Regions from separate parts of the Homo sapiens genome. Here regions 1, 2, 3, 4 and 5 are each linked to region 6. Evidence: promoter capture Hi-C in 16 types of primary human blood cells and fetal thymus (Javierre and others, 2016). All regions are on one chromosome and are shown on one strand. The core of a region is centred on a gene start or on the middle of the fragment in contact, and the rest is flanking DNA. Distances in the headings are between cores, read along the strand shown.

Region 1 (4,386 bases), core at 1,070-3,569, 1.5 Mb before region 6:
AATAGGAACGTATCAATGAGTGTGATGAGATATGCCTTTCAGTTTTGTCAACTGTTTTAGAGGCAATGGAACCATGCAAGAATGTTCATGTTCTACGAACGGGATTCAGGTGAGAACTCTCTTATGCTTTCTTCATGTGGTTTTCTTTGTTCCTCATATATCTGGAATAAAAAAATTGAGATGAAAACTAAACTCCTTTCTTGAGGGGAGGAGGGGTTGGGGAGGCTTTGTTGGTAGTTACAGTCTTTCATACCTTATTAAGCTTAAAATCCTGACTCTGGATGACATAGGCTGGAAATACTTCTCTTAGGGTCCATAATAACAAAGATGTGAGTAACATTGAAATCTAAATTAATTTATTTTAAAACATAGTACTGGCCAGGCGCAGTGACTCATGCCTGTAATCCCAGCACTTTGGGAGGCCGAGGCAGGCGGATCACGAGGTCGGGAGATCGAGACCATGGTGAAAGCCCGTCTCTACTAAAAATACAAAAATTAGCCGGGTGTGGTGGTGGGTGCCTGTAGTCCCAGCTGCTTGGGAGGCTGAGGCAGGAGAATGGCGTGAACCCAGGAGGCAGAGCTTGCAGTGAGCTGAGATCGCGCCACTGCACTCCAGCCTGGGCAACAGAGCGAGACTCTGTCTCAAAAAAAAAAAAAAAAAATAGTACTGATGCGGGGTAGGAGAGAATTGATATGTATATTTAATTCAGAATAGTTATTCGGGGACTATGTGAGGGTTGACGTTGACCCAGCTTGAAAAGGGATTTATAAAATTGATATAAATGATCTAATGTCATAGATTAGTGAGAGTAAAACTTAACTCCCTTTGACATTGACTATGCATAGGATATGTTACTATAATCTCCTGACATAATTTGTTCTTTAGTAAAGACAGCACAATAATGTGAGAGAAAATAGCACTATTAATAGATTGGGTCTCGATCTTTAACTACTTACACTCTCTCAAGCAGGTAGATCATTTCTCTGGGCTTCATAATCCTTGCCTGTAAGAAGGGGCTGGACCAAATGAAATTTTAAGATTTTTCTTCTGCTTTGAAGATTCTATGATTTTAATATTTATTGTGTTTGATAACAGAATACTAGTTGATCAGCAAGTTTGGAAAATAGAAGATGTCTTCACATTACAAGTTGTGATGAAGTGTATTGGAAAAGATGCACCGATTGCTCTTAAGAGGAAACTGGAGGTAAACACATGAATTTTCTCTAGTGGATGAGATTTGAAAAAATCTTTCTTATAACCTGCTATCACTGCCTGAAGTCAATTTTCTAGGAGGACATTGCTGGGCTTTTAGGTTTAGCTTCACTAAAGTGAATGAATAGAAGTACCCTTATATTTATTTATCTGTATATATATACATGTATATTTATTTATCTGTCTGGGTCATATTACCCAAACTTCATCCTTTTTGTTTAAAAATAAATGTTTAGGCCAGACATGGTGGCTCACACCTGTAATCCCAGCACTTTGGGATGTCAAGGGCAGGGAGATCTCTTGATCCCAGGAGTTTGAGACCAGCCTGGGTGACTGAGCAAGACCCTGTCTCTGCAAAAAAAAAAAAAAAAAAAAAAAAAATCAAAGAATTAGCCAGGCGTGGTGGTACATGCCTGTAGGTGGTGCATGCCTGTAATCCCAGCTACATGGGCGGCTGAGGCAGGAGGATCACTTGAGCCTGGGAGGTTGAGGCTCCAACCTGGGTGACAGCACAAGACCCTGTCTCAATAAAAATAAAAGTTTAATTTATTTTGTCACAGATAGTAAATTAAATTAAAATTTGTTTTTTCTTTAGATGAAAGCCTTGAGGGAATTAGACAGATTTTCTGTTTTGAATAGCCAACACATGTTTGAAGTACTAGCTGCCATGAATCACCGATCTCTTATACTCCTGGATGAATGCAGTAAGGTGGTCCTAGGTAAGAGGAATTTTTCTTTCATCATTTGCAATACCTGAGCTTCTGTTTTAGACTATTTTTGTTTTGTTTTAAAAACTTTGCTTTTATATGAAAAAAGAATAAAGCATGTTGTATTCAAAACAATCAGGTAATTTTTGTTTGTTTATTTAACTCATTCTTCAAGATAATATCCATGGGTGTCCTTTAAGAATAATGATCAACATATTGCAGTCCTGCAAAGACCTCCAGTACCATAATTTGGATCTCTTCAAGGGACTTGCAGATTATGTGGCTGCAACTTTCGACATCTGGAAGTTCAGAAAAGTGAGTACATTAACAATTTAGAATAAGCCTCACAAACTTTTAAAACACTAATTCATGTAGCATTTTAAGTATTTCTCTTTCACCTTTATAGTAGTTAAGATACCAAAATATTCCAATGCTGAATTGACTTTTGAAAAATTAGCTCCTTATTATTCCTGTCTGGGGGCTACTTGCTAATATGAATAGTCCCCAACTTAGGATGGCTTGACTTAATATTTTTTGACTGTTTGATGTTGCAAAAGCAATACGCATTCAGTAGAAACCATACTTTGAATTTTGAATTTTGTTGTTTTGCTGGGTTAGTGATATGTTGTATGATGCTCTCTTTTCATGCTGAGCAGTGGCAGCAAGTCGCAGCTCCCAATCAGCTGTGCAATCATGAGGGTAAACAATGCATATTGTATTCAATAAATTACTTGAGATATTCAACACTTTTATTATAATATAGGCTTTTTGTTAACTCATTTTGCCCAACTATAGGTGAATGTAAGTGTTCTAAGCGTGTTTAAAGTAGGCTAGGCTAAGCTATGATGTTCAGTAAGTTGGATGTATTAAATGCATTTTGACTTAAAATATTTTCAATTTATGGTGAGTTTGTTGGGATATACCCCACCGTAAGTCAAGGACAATCTGTATACTATTCTATCCTTTGGTCATCTTTCTATTTGAAACAAAAATTTGCTCTTCTTTTTCGTTTTAAAAGGGTTGTATGGGCTGGGCGCGGTGGCTCACGCCTGTAATCCCAGCACTTTGGGAGGCCAAGGTGGGTGGATCACCTGAGGTCAGGAGTTCAAGACCAGCCTGGCCAACATGGTGAAACCCCATCTCTACTAAAAATACAAAAAGTAGCCGGGCATGGTGACGTGTCCCTGTAATCCCAGCTACTAGGGGGGCTGAGGCAGGAGGACCACTTGAACCTGGGAGGTGGAGGTTGCAGTAAGCTGAGATTGTGCCACTGTACTCCAGCCTGGGCAATAAAGATCAAAACTCTGTCTCAAAAAAAAAAAAAAAAAAAAAGGGTTGTATGGTACTTTTGTTAGATATTTAGCATGATTTCCGTGTTTATACTTTGTTCTTGTTAGATTTCAAATAATAAAGATGGGTGATGTGACAGGCTTGGGGTTTTTGAAGAATAAAATGTCACTACTTAATGGTCATGTCCATTGTTTTATCCAGAGTAAAAGCCTTTAAAATCAGGAGCTGTGTTAAGAATATAAACATTTAATGAAGCACCTGGTAAAAACTTCTTTTTGCAATGAAATAGGTGATAACTGTTAGATCTCTAGGTTCAGTTTATTTTGGAGAGTAAGGTAAATATTGAGTTTACTGTGGAAATTGGTTATAGAAAGAGAAGTAATAATCCTAAGTAAGAAAGATTGAGAAGGAAATTGGAGGTGAACTTGAAAGTTTATTTTAATCATAATGTTTCAGTTCCATTTTCACTTATAGGTATGAATATTAAATATAGAAATTTTGGGGTTATGTCTTACATGTTAGAATCTAGGAAGTATTTAAGTTTGGGAATGCGAGAAGTTCAAGATTGAGTTGGTCATTTTGAAAACCTTCAGAAAAGGCATATTTAAAAGTAATTTTCAGATATGTTGTATGAAAAGCATGTAGGAAGAGATTTATTTTTAAATCAGATGGAAACGTAGAAATCATTGTATGCCCTGGTTCTCAGCTTAAAAAAGATTGCTTATTAACTTGATACCCAATTCAAGAATTAATAGAACAGATTTTGTGAGAGAAAGATGATTGTTCCTTTTCATGGAAATATTCTGTTTCAGGATATATTCTGTTGATCAGGACAGTTGAATTGCTGCTTAGATTTTTTGAGATCTAAAAAATTACTATTAGCATACTGTAATTATTATAGAGTTTTCCCTCAATTTTCTCTTTTTAAGGTTCTTTTTATCCTCATTTTATTTGAAAACCTTGGCTTTCGACCTGTTGGTTTAATGGACCTGTTTATGAAGAGAATAGTAGAGGATCCTGAATCCCTAAACATGAAAAACATTCTATCTATTCTTCATACTTACTCTTCTCTCAATCATGTCTACAAATGCCAGAACAAAGAGTATGTACTTGTTTTTTTTTACCTTTTTTATTGCCATATAACTTACAAAAAAGGTTATAAATCATAAGCTTAAT
Region 2 (4,474 bases), core at 326-2,825, 1.6 Mb before region 6:
CCAGCACAGCTCCAATGGCTGTCACAACAGGTTTTCTGTGCCTTTTTTGGTACAAGAACAGGTAAGTCACAGGAAACGTTTTCTGTGAAATGATCTTGCAAACAGCATTAAGAAATTCTGTTGAATTTCAAAGAAAAGATATGATTAAAGGTGACTTTTGGAAGTAGAAGCCTCGAAGAAATGAGGAGGAAAAATAATTGTAATTTAAGGAGTCCATTTCATTTCTGATACAGAATAATCACAAAAACAAGTATATACTGCTGGCTTTAGTTCCCCATGAACGATAACCAGCAGGATATCCACAAGGCCACCCCTGTTTTCTGTGCTTCCCTCCTCCTGGGCTGAGTCCTGCAGAGCTGCAATAGGAAGTTCTCTGTGACCAGGTGGTTAGCATGAAGACGCATGTCGATGGTGGCCTCAAATTCCACTTTGAAGTTGGTCTTCAGCATGCGGCAGGTAAACAGCCTGGAGAAGACCATGTATATAGGGACAGAGAGGCCCCTACAAATGTCCCCATGGGCATCTGAATATAAGGAAACTCTGTGGCATCATTGGCATAGCTTTTTGCACACCCACAGGTCTCCATGTGCACCAGTTGCAGCCCCATGCCTTTTCACCACCAGCTCTCCTGTAAGCAGCTGCACGATGACACAATTCATTGAGTTGGGGTGTTCTCGAATGAGAAATCTGGGGAGCAAGGCTCTCTCTTTGATATTCTGTAAGGTTGCAGGTATAATCTGTGAAGTCCACAGGACTTGGAGTCAACTTCCCCTCCTGAGGAGCAGAGTGGATGGTAAATTCACCGGCCTTTGTCAAGTCCTTGGTCAACAGAGACTGCCTCATGTCACAGCGTAGTGTATACTGAATGTCTGATAATAAGTCTCATACAGAACTTTGTTACCCCTCACATACAGAAGAAATGCGAAATAAATTTGTTTTGCCATAGGGAAATTTCCCTGGCTTCATCCTTTCTATGGCACTGTTGATAATCTGGATAGGTTTAATGGAATTATAAAAAGCTTCAAAACTGCCCACACTTTTGGCACTGAGCTGGGGGATTGCAATTCCTTCCATTGTCAAAGACACTACTTGATGTGGGACTGAATCCTTACAAGATACGACCACCACACTGGAGAGCATTTCTCCAGCATGAGAAACTATTTGCTCTTCCATCTTGATGTCCAGGGAGGTCCCTGTTTTGAATTCTCCACAGCAGCCAACACTTCTGACCTCACATCAAGTTTTTCTTATCAATTTTTCAGGGACCCTTTTAATAGCATCATTTATCTTATTACCGAAAATATTTTTCTAAGTCTAGGGCTTATTTTTAATTTTGTTTATACTATCATTTACCATAACAAAATGTTTAAAATTACATGCTATCATATATATCTGTCTATTCCTTCATGATTTTTTGTTTTTCTTTCTTCCTTAGGAGATGTTCTTTTTTCTAATATTTATTTTAAATTCTTTTTACATTTAAATTTCAATCAATTTGGAATTTGTTTTAGTATATGGGGCAAAATAAGGGCCAATTTTCCTTTCAGATGGATAGCCAATTATGCATTATTTTTCCATGAATTGAAATATCACCTTTATCATATATTAGGTTCCCATATATGCTTAGATCAATTATTATATTTTGTATTCTCATCCTTAGACCTACATGTTCATTCCCGTTTTATACTATATTATTTGGTCATAGTAGTTTTATAGTAAGTGTTAATATCTGTTGTATTAACATCTGTTCTTCAGATATTAATGTCTCTCACTATTCTTCAGTCTCATAATTTTACTATTCTTGTACAACTATTCTTCCAACATACCTTCAAAATTATTTTATCCTATTTAGAAAACCTTGTGATTCTATCTGGAAATGCATTAAATTTAAATACAGTAGATTATGCTCTATAAGGCTACCATGAACAGTGAATTAGGAAATACTGAACCCATTGTTCCTAGAGAAAATACAGGGTTAGGTTCCTGCAAGCCTCTGGCCACAATATTTTTGTCAACCAATCAATGCACAACCTTGTTTTATGTGTTTCTGTATAAAGATGCTTTTTAAATATATATTGTTGATTCATTAGCATTAAACTCATGGTCAACAGCAATATAAATCATACCTGAATGAAGCTTATTTAACGTGTGTATTTTTTCATTAAGGCACATCGTAGCCTTGCTGTGCTTGGGAACACTAGACAGCAATTCAGTACCGTGCTTTGGGGCCATTTGCCAAAGTAAAATCACCAACAAAAAGCACAAATATAAAAAAACAAGACACAAAATAGACACGAAAAGGACACTTGCTTATAGAATGAGGGCTGAAACAGTAACACAGAGCACTATCTGGTTTGACCTCAGCTGGGAACACGTGCATCAGGCAACTCAAAATTTTTTTGCCACTCTGCTTATGTCTGCAAATACTGAAAAAGCACCAGGAGTGTTAATTTTAGGGTTACAAATAAATTTTTGCAAGTAGGCAAATTTGTAAGTATTGAATCTGCAAATAACAAAAATCAGCTATTAATTTTTGGAGCAGGTACATTCTTATGCTAGTCTTCTCATTTAGAAATTTGGCATTTTTTCCTTTTGTTCAGGACTTGTTTTCTGTACTCAATAAAATATTATAATTTTATTTGGGTCTTGTATCTTTTTTGTTAAACTTTTTTGTAGTTTCTTTTAAAAATAATTTTTACATGTATTTTGAATGAGATTCTTACAAAATTTATAGCTGGTTATTGCTAGTAGAGTGAAGAATTTTGTATATGTTTATTTTATTTTTCCACCATCATTTGAAGCCTATTAATTCTAGTAATTTTTGCTAGTTACTTGGGGTTTCTTAGTAATTCACAATTAAATTAGCTACAAAGAGAAGTAATTCTGTCTGTTATTTTTCTGCAGTTTAATTTTCTTTTTAACTATGTTTTCAAGAACTTCCTGAAATATTTAATAAGAGTGATGATATTTGGCACCTAACTTTCAGTTCTGGTTTTGTAAATGAAAGTATTCTCAGTGCAAACTATCATGTGTAAAGGAAATAAAACCACATCAAAAGGGAGAAGGCTTATTACCATGCAGATAGTTTGCTGAATCATTGAACGAATTCAATATTATCACTTGGCCATAACCATTAATCTCTTAGAAGATGGTCAGTGCTAGTGTGCCAACATAATAGATATCAAAGATGTGTTTTTTACTATTATTACATTGTGATTTAGTAATATTCCACATTCTTTTCTCCTAGATGAGCCACAAATCAGAATTTCTGAACTCATCAAAGTCTAGGGTACACTGAAAATTATTACATAAGAATGTTATTTTGGGGAACAACTCTACTGTACTTGGGGTGGACAGAGTACAACTCATTGACGTTTAGAGAACCCTGGCTTTGTACAGCCCTTGTAATTCCCTTTCCTCATCTCACCTCCAGAAATACTACTCTGGGAGTAGAGAGGAGAGGTTATCCCAATTAACAGGTAAAGAAACTGAGTCCTAGAAAAGTGAAGTGACTTCCTCATGGCCACACACGTGGTTAGTTGAGGGCAAAGCTTCTGTCTCTGTTCCAGATTCAGTCAAACCTCATTATCTTGTTCCAAAGCTCCTTGATTCTTTCCAGCTACATTCTAAAAGAGCTCATGGTTCACCTTATCTATCCATCCATCAATCCCTCCATCATGCGCTATACATTTTATTATTCATTCATTCATTCAGTCAGTCAGTCATTCAACAAATATTTATTGAGGATTTATCATATTCAGACATTATTATAGATTCTGGCAATACAACTGGAAACAATGGACATTCCTCCCCTCATAGAGCTTACATTATAGAGAGGGGCACAGCAATAAATAATAAATAAGTAAGATATAGGATGTCAGAGGGTGATTAAGTGCTCTGAAGAAAAATAGAGCCAGCAAGGATAACTGGGAGTGCCAGAGTGAGGAAAGTGGTTGAATGGTAAATGGTTGTCAGGAAAGGCCTTCAGGATGAGCCTACATTTGAGCAAAGACCTCGGCAGGTCTTTGGGAAGTGAGCAGTCAAGCCACGCAGGGAGGTGATCTAGGGTTGCCAGTCCCCCGAGGTGGCAGCATGCCTGGTGTATTCATGGAGCAGCAAGGAGAGCTGTGAGGCTGAAGCAGAACAAGTCAGGGAGAGGTGCAGTGGAGGACCAAGAGCTGGTGGGGAACAGGGTTTATAGGGCCAGGCTAAAGGCCACTGGAAGGACTGTGACTTTCTTGGAAGAGGGAAGGCCACAAAAAAGTTTGTGCAGAGGAGTGACATGATCTGGCCAAAATCTGAAAAGGGCCTGTGGCACCAGGAGTGGACCATGGGGAGACCGAGGAGGAAGCAGGGGAACCAGTTAGGAGGTCATGTGACAATGTGGGAGAAAGGGACCGCTGAGGTGGTGGCAGTAGAAATAATGAGACTCACTCGGAGTTCAAATCTATTTTGAAGGTACAACCAACAAGAT
Region 3 (4,666 bases), core at 2,116-4,615, 1.3 Mb after region 6:
AAATTATAAATACATAGCAGTGTAGTTCAGTTCAGTTTTGTAAGACTTCATATTAATTAAATCATAAATTACACAGAAAAATCTTTTGACAAGCCATATTTTTAGAGCTTTGGTTCAGAAAGTATTGTTTTCATAAATAAAATTCAAATGAGGGAGAATTTGTTCATTCACTTTTAAAGAAGCATCAAAGACCTGTGTCGAGCTGCTTCTCATACTGGATATAGAACAAGAGTCAGCATCATTTAAACCAGTGCCCCATTAGGATTGATGGGCCTCCTTTTTTTTTTCCACCAGCTAGATCTCAGCTGTGAAATGAGAAAAATATATTCAGTAAAGACAGTAATATAAATTCCAAGGAGCTAATCAGATTAGAAAGCCATGGCCATACACTTCTGAATCAAGGCAGAGCCCTGTAAATATGGCTAATGCAAAACCAATGGCACCTGTCACAAAACAGCATTTTGAACTCTAAAAACTAGAGTATCATAGATGCAGGAAAATAAAATGATTTGGAAGAAGTCTTGCAGGTTGGGATAAGAGAGACCTAAATCATATTGAAGTAGTTGACAAGTCATAAACCTCAGGTTGAGGAAAATATTGCCCCTTCTTATATGATGTTTCAAGAAATGTTTGTGACAAATAATTTTTAAAAATAACTTTTGAAAGTGCTGTATAATCAAGCATTGTATTTCTGATTGAGAGTTCAAATCCATATATGAAAAAAGTTTCAAAATAATTAATATATGTAAGAGGCCTGCACTTGTAGGTCTCTGCAGTTGTAAGGACGTGGCCTAAGACCTCAATCCAGGAAATTTATTTAAAGCTCCATATGGAAGTTTTTGTTTTTGTTTTTGTTTATTTACCTTTGGTAAAATCTTAAATTTTCTTCATTCAGGGAAAGTATCAGTTGATGCTGCTCCCTCAGTAACAAAACGGTTGCATTCAAACTGTTACAACTTACATAGAAAACCCAGAGCACTGAATCAAAGAGATGTCAACTAACTCATTGAAGCCCACAATTATTGGTGGTGGAGTAAGTGTAGTTGTGACTCTAATAAATTTACAGTTGTCTTTTCCTGTTTATGGTTGCCAATATTGGTCTTTAGATATGATGTATTACATACTTAAAAACCTGGTAAGGGACAAATTAAAATCTGACATTTGCATTCAGCTTAAATTAGTTAAGTCAGTAAATGGTTCTTCAGCCTTATTTCCTGCCATCTCTCCTCCTTTTATTCTCCATGTTTTTTTCTGTTAGGAGTGAATGCTTAGACCTCAGTTACTCAGAGCCGTCTTTCCTACAGTGGGCGAGATGCCCTCACTGTGCACTCCCATAACACCCCGAATGCAATCTCTCATGGCATTTCGCTTTATTCTCCCTCCCTAATCAACATGTTTTAAAGATTAATTAGATTCCTAGTTGTTGAAGTCAGAGACCACACATGGCTTGTCATTACTGTCTTTCTGGAACTTAGTGCGTTGCTTGATATAATTTTAGTGTTTATGATGTTGCCCACATTCACTCTTACTCTCATTGCTGTTGTTGGATTGCTGTTACTATTCCAGCGCCCTGTGTGCCCTTCTCTATTGCTGTCCTGAGTATTCCCTTTCTAACCACCCTGTCTGAGCTCCTCAGCCTACGTCTTCTGCATGCTGGAGGCTGGACCCAAATGCTAGGCCCTTCTCTTGCCCATCTCTTCCAGCCTGCAGGAGCTGCTGCTTCTCCACTGGAGGCTCCTGTCGTAATTCAGCAGTCAAACTGCAATATTTACTTTTAAGGAGCTTGACAGGTAAAAAGAAATCTCTTCAAACTGCATGAGACCTATTCAGCTCCATTTGGCTTTTTATTCATTTATTTTTCTCTTGCCAGGTGGTCCGAATCAAAGATTGAAGTGCCCTAGATTTCCAAATTTGTCTTTTATATATTCAGTGTTAAGTGCTTAGTGTTGTTTATAATTTAAACATAACTTTTATAAAACTCTATTTTGAAAAGCGATGACTAACTATGGATATACATAAAAAGGATGTTAGCAGAAATGAAAAGTTCCGTTTAAGTCCTTCTTAAGGCTTGTCTCATTTAGACAAACAAAAGTTACATTGTTTGCCTGCTCACTGATGACTGGTACCATTTTTACTTCCCCCATTTGCTAAATACTCAAAATTTATTTGAGCTTTTTTTTTTATTAAATGCAGCGAAACAATTTAGTGCATCAAAAACTACATATTGTGGTATGAGTAAATGTTGTTTCACAGCTTATTTTAGCATTCTAGAAAGGTTGGCATGGAAACCTTGAGAAGGCATTTTAGATGCTCAGTGATGCATAAAGGCATTCATTTTGAAAGTCCTGTTTATCTTATTTATCCCAATTTAGAATCAATTTTAATAGTTATTTGTATCTAATTTTAGAAATATGATTTTTTTCAACAGGCAGAAGTAGTTTCTTTAGTCTTTTTCTTTTTTTTCTTTTTTTTATTTTTAACACACATAATCCAGAGTCAGGGAGAGTTTTCAACAATTAAGCAATATAATTCACTGGATAGAGATATACATTGGAATCATTTAGATTTGGTTTCAAATGCTGGCTGTTAGCTTTATGATAATTGCTATGTTAGTAGCCTCGAAACATGAGATTAAACATTAAGATAATAGCAATAAAAGGAAATAAATAAGGTAATACATGCAATACACTATACAATATAATATGTTACCAGGTAATATATGTAACACACTTGCATAAAGTATACATTCATCAACTTTCATTATTATATGTGTAAAATAATAGAGCTGGAAAAAGAAAAATTCAATAAATTACTTTGACTCAGGAACCTTTTCATCATTCATCCTCTTTTCAGTCTTTCTGTCTTGCCTGAACACTGGGAAATGTTGGTTCAATTGAATCACAAGACATTCACTAATTTATTTATGAATAAGCTTCTATGGATTACAAAGGGTGTGAAAAAAGTTAATATCAATTTTTTTTTCAATTCATTACCTGTTGTGTTTGTTATTTGGTTGTTGGTGGATCTCTCTTACCCCATGATAATTAGGGACCATCAGTGTCCCTTGGGATCCAGAGACCTGGTTTCAATTTTTGTCTCGTCTGCTAAGCAGCTGTGTTACCTTGAATAAGGAAATTCAAATCTTGAGACCTGGGTTTTCTTGTATATAAATTAAATGGAGATGAGCCGTATTATTTTTAATATACGTTCTAGCTTTTATCCATATTTTTCCAGTAGGATATTAGAAATTAAATAAAGACTATTCTGTATCTACCATCTCTGTAGACATGCTCAGAGGTTGTCAAACATTTTGGAAATGACTTTTGTTAAGTGAATTAGCTACTAATTTTTTTAAAACTTAGAGTCACAAAACAACTAGCAAATAAATGACAATTATTTCTAAATTTGTTTTTAATATAGAGATTAATTTTTCATATCTATATTTAGAAATGACGTCTTCTAATTTTATCTAGGCATAAAACAGCTAAAAAACTTGATATAGTCTATACCAAAATAACCCAATAATAAAAGTAAGTTGTAATGGGAGAATAACCCAAAGGAGCAATTTTCATGTGAAAAATTTTCCAGTGTATGAAGAATTGTTATTCACGGAAGGCTAATCTGTTGGCAATGTCTGTTGCTGAGCTGAAGAGGGTTCTGACAAAGCAAGCCCATTCCTGCATGGACTAAGCCTTCGAGTGGCCTTGAATTAGAAAGGAAGATAATTCTGCCTCTGGAAAAAGATATCATAGTGTAGTTATATAGAAATTACTCCTCAAAAGTTCCAACCCTTCTAACTAAAGCTTTACCAAAAGAATCCCAAAGAAGATAAACTTTCAAAATTCCGCTAAATAAAAACTCCATTGTCCTTTCAAAAAACATATACATTCTCAGGGAATTTTGTATAGTTCAAGATTATATAAATAACTTTGTCCAAACTCTTAGTTTCTACATTTCTTTAGAATTTCTCTTTTTCTCCTAAGAAAGTCTGGGGAAAAAACTCTTCACTATAGTAACTGATTAGTTCCATTTCCTGTCATATTTCTTTTCTTGTGGTTGCTGGTTTCTAGCCAATTCTATTTTTGCATTTATTTTCCCCCATTACATTCTGTTTCTTTTTTTTCTGGGTAGAAGAATTTTTGTGTTTTTCATTTTGTCAAAATGGAATTCTTCTCATGTTATGTCATGATTTTGATATTTTCAAGCTTAAAAAGCAACACAGAGGAGGTTTGTTTACATAATGAAGCATATCATGGGCTTTTTACAGAAGGTCTGATAATTCAGAAAGTATTTTCAACTAGCAGTGGATTAGCAATGCCTACTTTTTTCATAAGTCCTATTCTTTTGAGCATAGTCAGCTTGAGGCAGCTGTGGTTTAAAAGAGGAAACTAGGAGTCTAGGAAGTGACCTCATGAAAATGCAGAAAATTAAGAGTTTAAATAGTAATAATATACAAAAGCAAATAGCATATTTCACTAAATGTCTGAGTGCCTGAGAATTCTGGAAGTGGAGGGAAATCCAATTTAAAGAATATAAAATTAATATCCACATGTGAGTACATAGAGAGAAATACAGAAGGGGGAGGCTGAGAGACCTTTCTCAGGCTTTCGTTTTTTGGTTTGTTTCTTTATTTTTTTCTTTCTTTTTTTTTTAAAGAGCACTCTAG
Region 4 (4,202 bases), core at 704-3,203, 1.5 Mb before region 6:
AACATTTATTGAATGTATACACTTATTATGAGATAACCAACTGTCCAGAATGATGTGTGGATACTTACTTGCAAGGCTGATTTTCTTATCTCTTTTCTTTGGAATCGTTACAGATATTGGCCTTCTGTATATGTTGGGAAACTGACTTTTCTTTGTTCCCCAGACAGTTCGTGGAAGTTATGGCTAGTGCTCTGACTGGTTATCTTCACACTATTTCTTCTGAAAACTTATTGGATGCAGTATATTCATTTTGCTTGATGAATTACTTTCCCCTGGCTCCTTTTAATCAGCTTCTGCAAAAAGACATCATCAGTGAGCTGCTGACATCAGGTAGGATGTTAGTGCAGAATTGGTCACCAATTGTGACCAATTCTGCACTACCACTAGCTACCATATGACTCTGAATGGGGTCTTAGTTGGAGCAGTGTTAGTTGAAATTTGCAGAGCAGGTGTTGCTGTGGAAAGGGCTGATAATGGTGAAGTCAAAGGATAGTGCTTCAAAGCAGCAAACCTACAGACCCTTCTTTAATGACAAGTCCTACATGTAGAAAAAAATAAGGAATGCATCATTATTCCTTTTATTTATACTCTATCCTTCTATACAAAGGCTAACTGTTCAGGCTGTTCTTTATGCTTTGATCAGAGCTGTTTTAATTCCTAATCCTTACTTATCACATTTGAAGCCAACCTAAGTCAATTTTTGCAGCTGTAAACACTTGGTCACTCCTGGCCTGTGATGAGGGAACACCTGTTAGATCAAGAAACCAAATAGCCACCAAATTAATTAGTTCATTTACTCTTGGAACCAAATTAACTGTTGACTTTTAGTCTTTAGTATTAAATAAGGCAAAGCAATATTCAGGTAGATGTACAAAATTTGACGATGTGTCTGAGAATAGAGTAGTTCAGAATTAAAACATAAATAAATAAATGTTATAAAATCCCAAAGTTGAGTTGTAGAGAGTCAGTCAATAATACCACGTGCTGGTTTTTCAGGCAGTGTAATAATGGAGAAACAGCCTTGAACCTTGGAAACCTGGATTCTAGTTCCAACTTTGCCTTAATTACGAGGCTTTTTAACTTTCCTGGGCATTTCCTTATCCATAAATTGAGGAGTTTAGACTAAATGACCTCTAAAGATATTTGAAGCCTTAAAACATTATCAAGTGCAGGGCTTTGATTTAGACCCTGTGGAAACCAGGGAGACAAAGAGAGAGTCCTTGTGATAAGAAAGAGATAATTAGAAATACAAGTGCATTTATGTATATATTTATTATTTTATAACTATTACTAAATATATACTAATATAGTTTTTTAATGTTGCATTTATTTCTTCTTAATGATATACTCTCTTTTTCATCTTTTAGATGACATGAAGAATGCTTACAAGCTGCATACTTTGGATACTTGTCTAAAACTTGATGATACTGTCTATCTGAGGGACATAGCCTTGTCACTCCCACAGCTGCCGCGGGAGCTGCCATCGTCACATACAAATGCAAAGGTGGCAGAGGTGCTGAGCAGCCTTCTGGGAGGTGAAGGACACTTCTCAAAGGATGTGCACTTGCCACACAATTATCATATTGGTATGGGACATTATATGATTTCCTTTCATTTTATTGTATTTATTTTCCTTTTTTTCTGACCAAAAAAATAGGTATTTGTGGCAGCAGTTTAGTGTAGTGCAGCATTGCCTCTGGAACTGGCCTGATTCTTGCCTCATAAAATTCTTGTGACCAATAAATGAAATTCTACACATTTTTATGTGTCTAAAATCCCAAGACTAGTATCTGACACATGGTTAGCTCTCAATATATTTTAGCTACTGCTATTATCATTATTGGTAGTACTATTAAACATTTTGAAACAGAAAATCACTTGGGGCTGGTCACGGTGGCACACGCCTGTAATCCTAGCATGTGGAGAGGCCGAGGCAGGTGGATCACTGGAGCTCAGGAGTTCAAGACCAGCCTGACCAAATGGTAAAATCCTGTCTCTACCAAAAAAATACAAAACTTAGATGGGCGTGATGGCATGCCCCTGTAGTCCCAGCTACTCAACAGGGTGGGGTAAAAGGATTGCTTGAACCTGGGAAGTTGCTGCAGTGAGCTGAGATCACACTACTGCACTCCAGCCTGGATGACAGAGCGAGACCACATCTCAAAAAAAAAAAAAAAAAGGAAAAGAAAAGAAAAAGAAAGTCACTTGGAGGAATGTTTGAAAAATTAATATCAATTCTTTCCTTTCAGATTTTGAAATCAGAATGGACACTAACAGGAATCAAGTGCTACCACTTTCTGATGTGGATACAACTTCTGCTACAGATATTCAAAGGTTGCTTACATATATTTCATTTGCTGGGCTTTCTGAATTAAAATCCTAATTCTAAAAGACTTCATATTAAATAGCAGTAGTAAATCTAAGACTTGATGTTTGTATGGAGCCTGCAGCACACCAAGAGACTTGTCATCCATCAATGTACTCCTTAGAAAGTGTAAATGTGGACGTTATGGTTGAATACAATGGACTACAGTATTGGTCATTTAATGAGACAGACATTTTTTTAAAATTAGGTTTTGAAGCTATAGTTCAATAAAACAATATTAATATAATTGAAACTATCAATGCAGTGTAGACTTTGGACAAGATAATATAATAGTGATCATAAAGAATAAAGACTCGAGGCTTCTACAAAAATCAAATACCCAATAAATATTTTGCTCTACCACCAAGACTTTTCCAGAGGTAGAGAAACCGTAGTTTTTTAATTAAACTGTATTTGTATGGGTTAGAGCACATTGAAGCTAATCCTAAGTTGTTTCTTTGGCTCACACATTACAAATAGAGTGTCTCTGGGGAGAAATATGATGCTATACCATGAGAGAACATCCTGCCTCTTCAGTAGATGCATAAGATCATGCCATCATTGCACACACCCGTGGGTCAGTTACCCTTTATGTAAAAGCTCTGCTACATGGATCCTGACCCCAAGGAACTTGTATCTTCTGTTAACTCCACTGGACACACACACACACATAAATATGATAGAAACATACAAAAAAATCTGTAGGGATCCAAGCTCTTATCTGCCCATCCCTCTTCATTCACACACAGTTCTGTGACTTTCACCTCTTTCTGAATGCATCTAGCTTATTTCTTGGCCATCTTTTCAACCGCTGTCTTTCCTATTAGTGCTACCCATCTCCCCTCAGAAGAGGCTTTCTCTCTGACCTCATTCCAAGATCAGTTTTCTTTTTCGGGTACTCCGCTATTCTGGCATAATAAAATAACAGTTGTTCTCAGCATAAAGTCATGAGAAGTGAAGAATGTGAGCATTCCTTTAAAAACATAAAATTTGTCTTATAACAGCCAGAGTATAGGTGAAGGCAGTAAGGATATAAATGTCTTTTTTTTTTCTTTTTTTCTCCCAGTAAACTTAGTATTTCCAAAGTGCCAGGAACAATGAAAAAACAAATTACACCTTCCACATTTTCGTTATATTTACAGATTTTATTTTAACAGTCTTGCCTTTCTCTTGGTGTTTTCTTTCTTGTATTTAAACTCCTATTTCTGTTTTTTAAATGCTGCTTTCTCTGGGAGATGATATGTGTAAGAAGAGCATTTACTATTTGGTATTATTTACACCGTTACTACTACTGGTAGAATAAATAATTATACTCAGATCAGAAATCAGCACTACACAGAAAACCCTTAAAATTGGTGCTTTCATGTCTGAAAATTTTCCTCTTCAAAAATGTAGCCATCCTTAAAGGGAACTGAGAGGTAACTGTGTATAATGTTGTATATTTTTGATTTATAAAGTAGCCTTGTATAGTGGAATATCTGCAGAGGCCAAGTAAAAGAAGTGAAGGACTAAGACAGGAATATCAAGGATTGTGGTCGGTGGAGAGCTCAACTTGGAAATCTCCAGAGAACAAGAATGCAGCAAGACTAAATAGTAATATCAATAACTGTTCTTGTTTTGTTTATTTTTGTTTTCAGAGTAGCTGTGCTATGTGTTTCCAGATCTGCTTATTGTTTGGGTTCAAGCCACCCCAGAGGATTCCTTGCTATGAAAATGCGGCATTTGAATGCAATGGGTTTTCATGTGATCTTGGTGAGAAAAAAATGCAAATGAAATATTCTTTAATTACTGATGTACATTCTAACAGCTGCCAGGAATCTTGTGGTTGAGACTGGTT
Region 5 (4,792 bases), core at 1,961-4,460, 2.0 Mb before region 6:
CACAAAACGTGCCCATTGCCAGTAGACGGAAATCTGGTTTGTGCGGACTGCTGATCTGATGCAGAATGGCACTCCCTTTGATGTTTTATGATAGTATCATGTTGGAAGAAAAATTTTGCCAACTAAACTATAACACAATTTCTTGTAATTTAGTGTTTTTCTTTTTTTCTTTTCTTTTTTCTCTTTGAGACAGGGTTTTACACTGTTGTCCAGGCTGGAATGCAGTGGTGCGATCACGGCTCGCTGCAGCCTCTACATCCCGGGCTCAGGTGATTCCCCCGCTTCAGCCTCCTGAGTAGCTGGGACTACAGGCATGCACCACCATGCCTGGCTGATTTTTTTGTAGTTTTTGTAGAGATGAGGTCTCGCTGTTTCCCAAGTTGGTCTTGAACTCCTGGGATCAAGCGATCCTCCCGCCTTAGCCTCCCAAATTGCTGGGACTACAGGTGCGAGCCACCATACCTGGCCTATTTTTATTTCATACTCAGTAAAAGAGCACTCTCAGACTTTGACACATTTATTATGCATTGATCTTGTGAATGCATAAAAAGAGACATATAAGTAAAATTGGTTTAGGTATTTCAGAAACTTCATATTCGGAACTCAACTTTCATTTTATTTATTTTTTTAATTAATTAATTTATTTATTTATTTTGAGACGAAGTCTCACTCTGTTACCCAGGCTGGAGTGCAGTGGCACGGTCTCAGCTCACTGCAACCTCCGCCTCCCAAGTTCAAGTGATTCTCCTGCCTCAGCCTCCCCAGTAGCTGGGATTACAGGCATGTACCACCATGCCTGGCTAATTTTTGTGTTTTTTTTTAGTAGAGATGGAGTTTCGCCATGTTGGCCAGGCTGGTCTCAAACTCCTGACCTCAGGTGATCCGCCCACCTCGCGCTCCCAAAGTGCTGGGATTACAGGCGTGAGCCACCGCGCCAAGCCCAGAGCTCAACTTTTATGAATCACTTTTTGAATCAGTTGTCCATGGCTGTAGCTTTCCACCAAAAGTGTTGGTGATGCATCTAACTTTAAGAATGCTCCAGCTGGGCACAGTTACAGCTCATATCTGTAATCTCAGCACTTTGGGAGGTGAATGTGGGAGGATCCCTTGAAGCCAGGAGTTCGAGACCAGCCTGGGCAAAAAAGTGAGAACCCCCATCTCTACAAAAAGTAAAAAAATTAGCCAGGCATGGTGGCACACGCCTGTGGTCCCAGCCACTTTGGAGACTAAGGCAAGAAGATCGCTTGAGCTTGGGAGGTCAAGGCTGCAGTGAGCCGTGTTTGCGCCACTGAACTCCAGCCTGGGTGACAGAAGGAGACCCTGTCTCAAAACAAAAACAAAAACAAAAACAAAAAACAGAGAGGGAGAGAAAGGAAGGAAGAATGCTGCACTATTGTATGCAGGATTTTCTTCCAAGCAGCTGATCTTATTCTGCAAGTTTTGATGCTGGCACCTTCTTGATCTCACCTGAATATGTCAATTTTGTGTTTTCACGCAAAACATTCAGGACTTGTTTTCCTCCTTCAATGGTGTTATTGAATAAAAGCTGTAGGGGTTGTAACTGACTAATCAGGCTATCAAGAATAATATCGAAGTTATTTCATTTTTGGGGGGTGCAAGTAGGCTTAGTATTTAACTGTTCATATATGGGTTCCCAAAATCCATCAAGAATGAATGTACTTGGTAAGTAACTCAGGGCTCCCAGAAGACTACTAGTTCTTAGCCAGTCCCATCTCTTTCTTTTCTAAATGCTGGGGAAATCTCTTTTTGGTCCTAGGAAAATCTTCTCCAGGCAAATCTTCCCTCTTTCCCTAGGAAAATCTCTCTCCAAGTTTGAGTGACTTTTGTCTGTTAATTCCCTTCCTCCTAGGGTTATGGGTTTTATTAAACAATGCACTTATCTCAGTTGAAATGAGGACAACCTGCACAGCAACATCCACGTTGTAATACGTGGAGGTAATGACAACCAGGTCTGTACTGCCACCCGGTCAACGAGAGTTTATAAGATGCATCTTGATTTCACAGATGTTAAAATGTGGGGAAAAACATGGCTTAGCATCTGTGAAATACATAATGTCATGGTGCTTCGATCAATGTATAGTGGATTTTCTATAATTCCAAAGTTGGGATGTGGAAAAAACTTGCCTTAAAAGAAATCCGTACTTTTTGGTATGTTAAATCTAAGGGAGGTTATAAATCGAACAGTTGCAGGAGCCCAACTTTAAAGTGAGAGAAAGATGTAGTGGGGGAAGAAGGAGCTGAGAAATACAGAAAGAATAAAAACAATGGACGCAAAAGCAATAGGCAAGTTTTTTTGTTGTTGTTCTTTAAAGGGACAAAATCACAAGCTTACTAAAAAGGGTAACGACAATTACAGCTACAGCCAAAGAGCAAAGTAGCTCATTTTAAGATTATTTTTACATTAGACATAAGCTTTGCAACAGGGCCTCTCTCCATTTTAGTAAAATTGGTTTAGGTGTTTCAGAACCTTCTTATCGCAGATTATAATTTCATATTCAGTAGTGTGATTCATTTAGGTTTGTGATCTCCGTTACACTTAAACTGTTTTTGCTCACAACTATATTCGTAATGGGGTAGCGCAGTGAATATAATTGCATGACCTAATGTTGTTTGTTAATATTTGTAACCCTTTAATGTGCAGGATAGATCTTTGAATACCTAACTTCCTTAAGCCTCAGTTTTCTCAATTTGTCAAAGGGGGACAATAATAGGATTCATTCAGAGTTACTCTGAAATGAAATGCAATAATGTATAGAAACCTTAAACGGTGCCTAGCACAGAGCAAGCGCTCATTGAACAGCAGCTTTTGTGAGATGCACCTCACTATGAAATAGGCATGGAAACGGAAACGACTAGCTCTCTTAGCCCCGTTTTCTTTTCTACATTCATACGTTGCTTTGAATTGGCAAGCAGTTTTTATTTGGACCCTCAAACGCTAAAACCTTGGTCTCTACTTCGCGTCCCAACTGTGCTTATGAGTCTAGTCATTTTTGTTGGAACGCGATAGATTTCCCAAGCTCCGGAGTGGGGCCCTGACCAGGGAGGAAGTGTCCGCTTTAAGAGCTTCTGGAGGGGAGGAAGGGGCTCCTCCGCCCGGGTGGGAGAGTGAGTGAGTGGGTGGGCGGGCAGGGGGCGGTCCCGCCGCTCCTGCGTCAGAAGGGGTCTGGTTTTCGCACCTTCCCTGACGTCAAACCTCCATCAGGGTTGCAACGCCACGTTGCCTTGGATGCCTGCGTGAGTGGAGTCGCGACTCGGGGCCCGCGTCCTGAGAGACGCGCTCCCGCGCCGCTTCTCGCCTCCGGACCGCAGGGGCCGAAGTCGCCTATTTCTGGCTCCGCGGGCAGCGGGGCCGTGGCGCTCGGACGGTCTGGGATTCGGGCGCCGCCGCGGAACCGGAATAAGAAGGGAGAGCGCCCGGCTCGGTCCTCGGTCTCCACCGCGGCCCGGAAGGAATCCGGGCAGCCTCCGCGGAGGTGAGTGCCGCGGCGGGGGCGGGGCGCGGCCGGGGCGACGCCCGCGGGCGGGGCCTGCTCGCCGGGCGCCCGGGGCGCCTTCTTCCCGAGGGACGCCAGGACCGCTCGCTGGGCTCCCGCGGCCGCCTCGCAGGTCCTCGGCTTCCCCCCACCCCGCGTCCCTTTCTGCCCCTGCTGCGTGAGAGGTGTCGGCGGCTCCGGGCCGGGATCGAGGTGGCGGGGCGAGGGAAGGAGGTGGGGCGCAGGCTGCATTGCGCTTCTGTCCGGGGCCCTGGGTCAGAGGGGCCGGCGGACGAGGCCTCGGGTCCGGGCTTGGGGAGGGGGCGGTCTGCGGGGTCGGATTGAGGGCCGGGAACCCGCGGAGTCTTGCCCCTGGGCACCTGTGGGGCCGAGATCCCGAGCCACCTGTCCACACACCCCCTTCCCCCAGTGCCCTGCGTTGGGTCCAGCTGGCCCCAGACCTAGGCCTTTCCCAGCCTCGGGCGATTATAGTTTATTTGAAAACGTTTGATTTTTGTGTTAATGATTCTTTTACTACCGCCGTGCAACAGTTGTGTAAATGTGGTCGTGTTACGCCATCGTTTTTACTTGCTCCTAAGAAGGGCCTTACCAGCTCCTGCGATTATCTCACGCGATGATTCTTGGTAGCTCGTGAAAAAAATGCATAACAAGATACTGGTTCTCAAGGGACCAAAACCCCACCCCCACCTAAAGGAAATAGCTTGTTTTTGTTTTTCTTTTTTACAGCAATATGCTACGTGTGGGGAGGGGGAGGGACGATGGAGGCAGCCTGTAGCGATCTCATCCTCGAGAGAATCTGCTAACAATTTGGGGGGTATCTTTCCTTCCTTTTTAATTAATACACAAACATATATACGTGTGTTACATAAGGGGTGTTTATTTGCTTTTTTCACTTAATACGTGGAAGACCTTTTCTCTATCGTTTGAACCTAAAGCCTAGAAGGCAAGAAAGCAACTCGTTAGAGAGTTGATAAAGTATCACTGCAGTGGCCAGTGATTTGGATAGAAATAAGCTGAATTCAGGGTAAGAACTGGTTTCTATAAAATATGGTTTACTCTGCATAATAATTGGAGGCAGTGTTTTTTCAAACTGAGTTTTTTCAGCCGGTTCGTGAATGGTGAAATTAATTTAGTCATGACTAGCATTTAAAAAAAAATAAGATCGCATAAAAAAATCAGAATGCATTATATGTAATGAGAGTATTGTTTTGTGAAAAATATTTTAACTGTGCGCGTGTGCATTGTGAAATTTAGTGGGTCGTGACTAGCATTAAAAA
Region 6 (4,319 bases), core at 1,820-4,319:
ACTTCAGTCCAACTCATCATTTTACTGGGCTCTCAAGATGTCCAGAATGGTGAGTGCTAGCATTTCTCCTCCTTTAAGAGGCTGTTTTTGTTATTTAATAAAAATAACTAGCCATGAGGAGATTCAGCTGGTTCCTGTGACCCATATTCAGGGAAACTTTAAGTCTAAAAGCGAGACGAAGAATTCCTGGTGGAACTGTTTTCCTAGAGATAACACAGACATTGGAGATGTGGGGCTAAATACAACAAAGTGATTTCTCAATTAGAAGAATCTCTATACAGTAGGGCCACTGCCCAGGACCCAAGCATGTCCCTGTCATCTTCTTCTGGCTGTTCACAGGCAAGGGTAAGCTGCTAGTGAGTGGGATAGGACAAACTGTGCATTGTCCTAGGAAGACAGCACTTTAAGGATAGGGTGTGGGGGTAGCATATACAAATCAATCTGATTCTCAGAAAGTGCAAGGTTGGACGCTTTGGAAGAAATGAAACTGTCCCAGCTTGTCCCTAGAGGCAGAAGAAGCTCTGAGCCTGCTAAAAGTTATCTATTCCTTCTAATGATGCTCTAATCGAAACTCTTTTTTAATCCAACAACACAGCTGCAAATTGCTTTTATTCTCTTAAGGACTAAAAAAGTCAAGAGAATTGACTTTAAAGAATTATTAGATAAGAAGCCTAAAATAGTCTTTCTTGAAAAATTGAGCTAAAGTAATTTGGTCTTTAAATAAAAATGTAATGATTAGTAGACAGTAAGCGTCTGTTTCTTGACAAGCCTGGATGTATTTCCAATCCCCAGGCCCATTTTCACTTCCCAAATTCGCAATTCTAGAATTCTTCTTACTAGTGTTTAGGAGATTCCTTTGGGGGAACCTTCTGGAACTGAACTAGACTAAAAGAAATGAACAGAATGGTGTGGATGAGTCAATTACTTCCCATTTGTAATGTCAAGTATAATTTGTAGTACAGCTGAAAGCATATGATTCAGTTCATGTTTGATTCCACTGTCACACCTATCCTTGTTTTAAAACAAAGCAAAAAAGGAGGCAGTGAACTTATCTGGTTCCTGATAATACACTTCCATGGCCATGTCCCTATATAGTATGATGCAACAGTCATGACATGGCAATTTATTCTTGATGGCAAATACAGTTAATAGAGGTCAAATATTGTACCTAAAATGTGAAGACTGATATCTTTTTAGTTCACTATTTCCTTCTCAGTTAAAGCAACTGTACTCTCTGCAGTAATCTTTCTTTATCTCATAATGCATACTTCAGACGCTTCAGGTTTTCCTCACATTACTTAGCCATGAAATTTTTACCATCTTTTAACTAAAACAGTGAAGCTTTATTGTTACTACCATGTGGAACATAATTGTATTTCTTCTGGATCTGATTTCCATGGGATGGGCTTGAGGCCCCACTGGACTGACTTCTCCACCTTTGTTGCCCCTCAGATTTTGTCTCCAACCCAATCCCAACTTCAGAAGGAAGGGCTGTTCCAAGACCAGCAGGCACCAGCTCATATGAAGTAGCTGAATCCTATCTCCTAACATAATTGTGCAATTCCAGAAAATAAACCTGGAATAACAATACAGAGTAGTTTAATGAAAAAAAAGAGCCATTTAATATTATTTTCATCAACCTCAAGTTTTTGGCCAGATTGTTTTTTGCCGAGTTCATGAACTACAATAATTTCTGGGCAAAAAGGATCTCTTGCAGATAAGACACTGTATTAAAAGAAACAAGGAAGCTGTTGGAATTCGTTGTTGGAAATATTCCTCACTCATTCCCTTGCAGTGCCTCGGCCTGCCCCCAAGACCAGTTAAACACTGTACTGCCACATCAAAGAAAGTACAGAAGAAGGGGGAAAATTTGCTAATTCTCACCTTGACAGTGAATAGATTTCTTATCACCCCAGTTCCTCCCAGTCTTGCAGACTCAACTGAATGTAGTTTATCGCCTAAAACAAAACAAGGAATAAAAGTGTTAACATACAGAACACTCACAGGAGAATTTAGCTGTTTTTAGTACCTGCCAGACAGCCCAGTTTATCCGGTTTAAAGTACAGTGCTGAGTGTACTCGGTGGGACAAAGGCCAATTTTAGGCCCGCAGGCACTTTCCAAATAAAGGTCATGGGAGCACAATTTATCTCTGCGTGTGCGAGGGCGTGCCCCCGCTTCGCCGCCCGTTAGCAGGTCTTGGGGTTTGCATGTCCTTGCTCTTGGCCTGCACCCGTCCTTATGGCCGTTGTGCAAGAGGGCTGCAATCAAGGCTGGATCGGTACCTCCTTCCAGGTCTCCACGCCCGCCCCTCCCCTCCCCTCCCCTCGCTGGTGCTGGGACCTTTTAAACTCCAGGCACCCGGAACTGGCGGGGGTGTTTCCCCCAGCCCCCTCTCGCCCCGTGTGGCCTAGCGACCCCTCTGAAGGCCGCTGGAGCTCCGCCCCTCCACGCCCCCTGGCGGACGCGAGGGATCGGCTTCAAGGCTATTCCTCGCCGCCTGAGTTGCCTGCAGACGCCCGTCTGCGGCTTACAGCCTTCTTTGCATCCAGCCCCCAGCTGCTGCACGTTTTCTTCCTCCTACACTCCAGGCTTAGTCTTCTACATGCATTCTTGCAACTTCCACCCCTCGATTTTCCAACCCAAGTGCAGACCTGATTTTCCCCTTGTCGTTGCATCCAACTTCCTCACCGCCCAGTTTCTCCCTCCCAGGCCCAAAAGCAGACCTTCTGCATATCCAAGCATCCAGCATCCCCTCCTTCCCTTTTCTTTTCCCATTCTCAATACCTGGATTTGTTCCCTTCTTTGCACGCAGGCCTTGACTCCCTCCACACCCAAGATCTGCGCTTTTTTCCTTTACCCCATTCCTGCCTTCTGCGGAATTAGAGCCACCCCTCCACAGCCAGGGACCGGGGCCGCCCCTTGGAGCCTGAGGTTACCTGCCGGGATGATATGCTGGCGAAGAGTTGGGGCGCCACAGCCGCTCACAAGCTCAGACTCACAACCACAGCCTGGCAATCCCAAACCGGACTCCCAGTGCCTCCGCTTCTGAAGTAGACTCTGCAGAAACCCGGGACCACAGGGTAGGTCCGAGCTTTTCCTCTTCCCGGCTTTGTCCCCTCCCAGGCCCCGCCTCCTCAGCCCACCTCCCCCAGCCCCGCCCCCGACACGCCTCCAATCGCCACACGCCAATTCCCGTGGGATGGGCGGAGTCAGCGAGAGGGGCGTGGCCACAGTCAAAGATGGAGAATCCATGGTGCCACTTTCCCGGTGATCCCGGTGGGGGAAGGGGTTGCCGCCCGGCAGAGATTCAGTCCCGAATCCCGACAGCGAAGAGACTTGTATGCCACCTGCAGGCCGGGGAGCGGGGCGCGCTGGGGCTGCACCACCCCGAACTTTGTAACAATCTAGAGCACCACAGAGTGTTTCCAGGTCGGCACAAAAGCGAACGGGACAGGGCGCCCTGGGCGGCGGCAGCTTGGCCGGCCCGCTGCCTAGCGCGCCCCCGAGGGGCGGTAATGGAACGTACCTTTGGCTGAAGAAAGAGTGCTCCCGGCCAGCGCGGGGTCGCCTAGGGGGTTCCGCGCTGCCTAATGCAAAGGATGGAAAAGTTACAGAAGCAGGTCCTGACACCACCTATGTCTAGGTCTTTAGAAACTCCATTGATTGTTTGCATTAGAAGATAATGAATGGGATTCTTATTATTTTCTTTTTTAAGACAGGGCCTTGCTCTGTTGCCCTGGCTGGAGTGCAGTGGAGCGATCACCGCTCACTGCAGCCTTGACTTCCTGGGCTCAAGAGATCCTCCCACCTCAGCCTTCCGAGTAGCTGGGATTACAGGTGCACACAATCACACTCAACTAATTTTTCTTTCTTTCTTTTCTTTTCTTTTTCCTTTGGTAGAGATGGGTTTCAGCAGCCCAGGCTGGTCTCGAACTCCTGGACTCAAGTGATTGGCCCTCCTCGGCCTCCCAAAGTCCTGGGATTACAAGCGTGAGCCACCATGCTCAGTTGGCGGGGGATTATCTGTGATCCAATGAAGTTGGACTAGAGATGTGAAGCCTTAGAAAACGGTGGATTGAAAAAAGAATTTTAGTCTCCTCCAGAGATTATATTTTGTGTGTTCATTGCTCTCAAAAACATGAAAATAAAGAGTATTTTATATTGTGATTTGTAGGACAATAGCATGCTTGTATATTGCTGCCCAGAATTTAATGCTCCAATATTTATTTATTTATTTATTTATTTATGAGACAGAGTCTTGCCCTGACAGGCTGGTGCAGTCTCGGCTCACTGCAACTTCCGCCTCCTGGGTTCAAGT

The links. The method cuts DNA at HindIII sites, captures the fragments that hold promoters and counts their contacts. A CHiCAGO score of 5 or more calls a contact.
Region 1: a contact is called between a fragment that was not itself captured here and the fragment with the promoter of IDH1 in region 6, in 4 of 17 cell types (total CD8 T cells, naive CD8 T cells, total CD4 T cells and 1 more). The highest score is 9.1, in total CD8 T cells.
Region 2: a contact is called between a fragment that was not itself captured here and the fragment with the promoter of IDH1 in region 6, in 1 of 17 cell types (total B cells). The highest score is 5.6, in total B cells.
Region 3: a fragment that was not itself captured here is called in contact with the fragment with the promoter of IDH1 in region 6 in 1 of 17 cell types (M0 macrophages); the score reaches 7.3 in M0 macrophages.
Region 4: a contact is called between a fragment that was not itself captured here and the fragment with the promoter of IDH1 in region 6, in 3 of 17 cell types (naive CD8 T cells, non-activated CD4 T cells and total CD4 T cells). The highest score is 8.5, in naive CD8 T cells.
Region 5: the fragment with the promoter of ZDBF2 here is called in contact with the fragment with the promoter of IDH1 in region 6 in 2 of 17 cell types (total B cells and non-activated CD4 T cells); the score reaches 5.8 in total B cells.

The regions. Positions count from the first base shown.
Region 1 is chr2:206,770,086-206,774,471 of GRCh38, forward strand. It overlaps FASTKD2 (FAST kinase domains 2), which reads left to right. Exons shown (of 12, transcript NM_001136193.2): 3 at 6-109; 4 at 1,097-1,205; 5 at 1,809-1,932; 6 at 2,096-2,235; 7 at 4,140-4,312. Among named protein-coding and RNA genes, the nearest start is that of FASTKD2, 6.7 kb to the left of the region's middle. RefSeq lists an enhancer at 1-813. The HindIII fragment of the contact is 4,118 bases long and covers 261-4,378 here.
Region 2 is chr2:206,686,170-206,690,643 of GRCh38, forward strand. The region is part of intron 9 of DYTN (dystrotelin); the gene reads right to left. It also overlaps the pseudogene VPS26CP1. Among named protein-coding and RNA genes, the nearest start is that of DYTN, 30 kb to the right of the region's middle. The HindIII fragment of the contact is 1,117 bases long and covers 1,018-2,134 here.
Region 3 is chr2:209,521,867-209,526,532 of GRCh38, forward strand. The region is part of intron 2 of MAP2 (microtubule associated protein 2); the gene reads left to right. Among named protein-coding and RNA genes, the nearest start is that of MAP2, 100 kb to the left of the region's middle. The HindIII fragment of the contact is 871 bases long and covers 2,931-3,801 here.
Region 4 is chr2:206,786,570-206,790,771 of GRCh38, forward strand. It overlaps FASTKD2 (FAST kinase domains 2), which reads left to right. Exons shown (of 12, transcript NM_001136193.2): 8 at 164-330; 9 at 1,368-1,586; 10 at 2,250-2,334; 11 at 4,003-4,117. Among named protein-coding and RNA genes, the nearest start is that of MIR3130-1, 5.4 kb to the left of the region's middle. The HindIII fragment of the contact is 5,023 bases long and covers 1-4,202 here.
Region 5 is chr2:206,271,453-206,276,244 of GRCh38, forward strand. ZDBF2 (zinc finger DBF-type containing 2) reads left to right here and starts at 3,211. Exons shown (of 5, transcript NM_020923.3): 1 at 3,211-3,494. RefSeq lists silencers at 3,106-3,165, 3,446-3,905 and an enhancer at 3,569-4,068. The HindIII fragment of the contact is 6,855 bases long and covers 2,432-4,792 here.
Region 6 is chr2:208,252,002-208,256,320 of GRCh38, forward strand. IDH1 (isocitrate dehydrogenase (NADP(+)) 1) reads right to left here and starts at 3,070. Exons shown (of 10, transcript NM_005896.4): 1 at 2,938-3,070; 2 at 1,885-1,958. It overlaps IDH1-AS1 (IDH1 antisense RNA 1), which reads left to right and starts at 3,232. Exons shown (of 2, transcript NR_046452.1): 1 at 3,232-3,430; 2 at 3,902-4,193. RefSeq lists a silencer at 2,215-2,324 and an enhancer at 2,778-3,304. The HindIII fragment of the contact is 4,060 bases long and covers 1,340-4,319 here.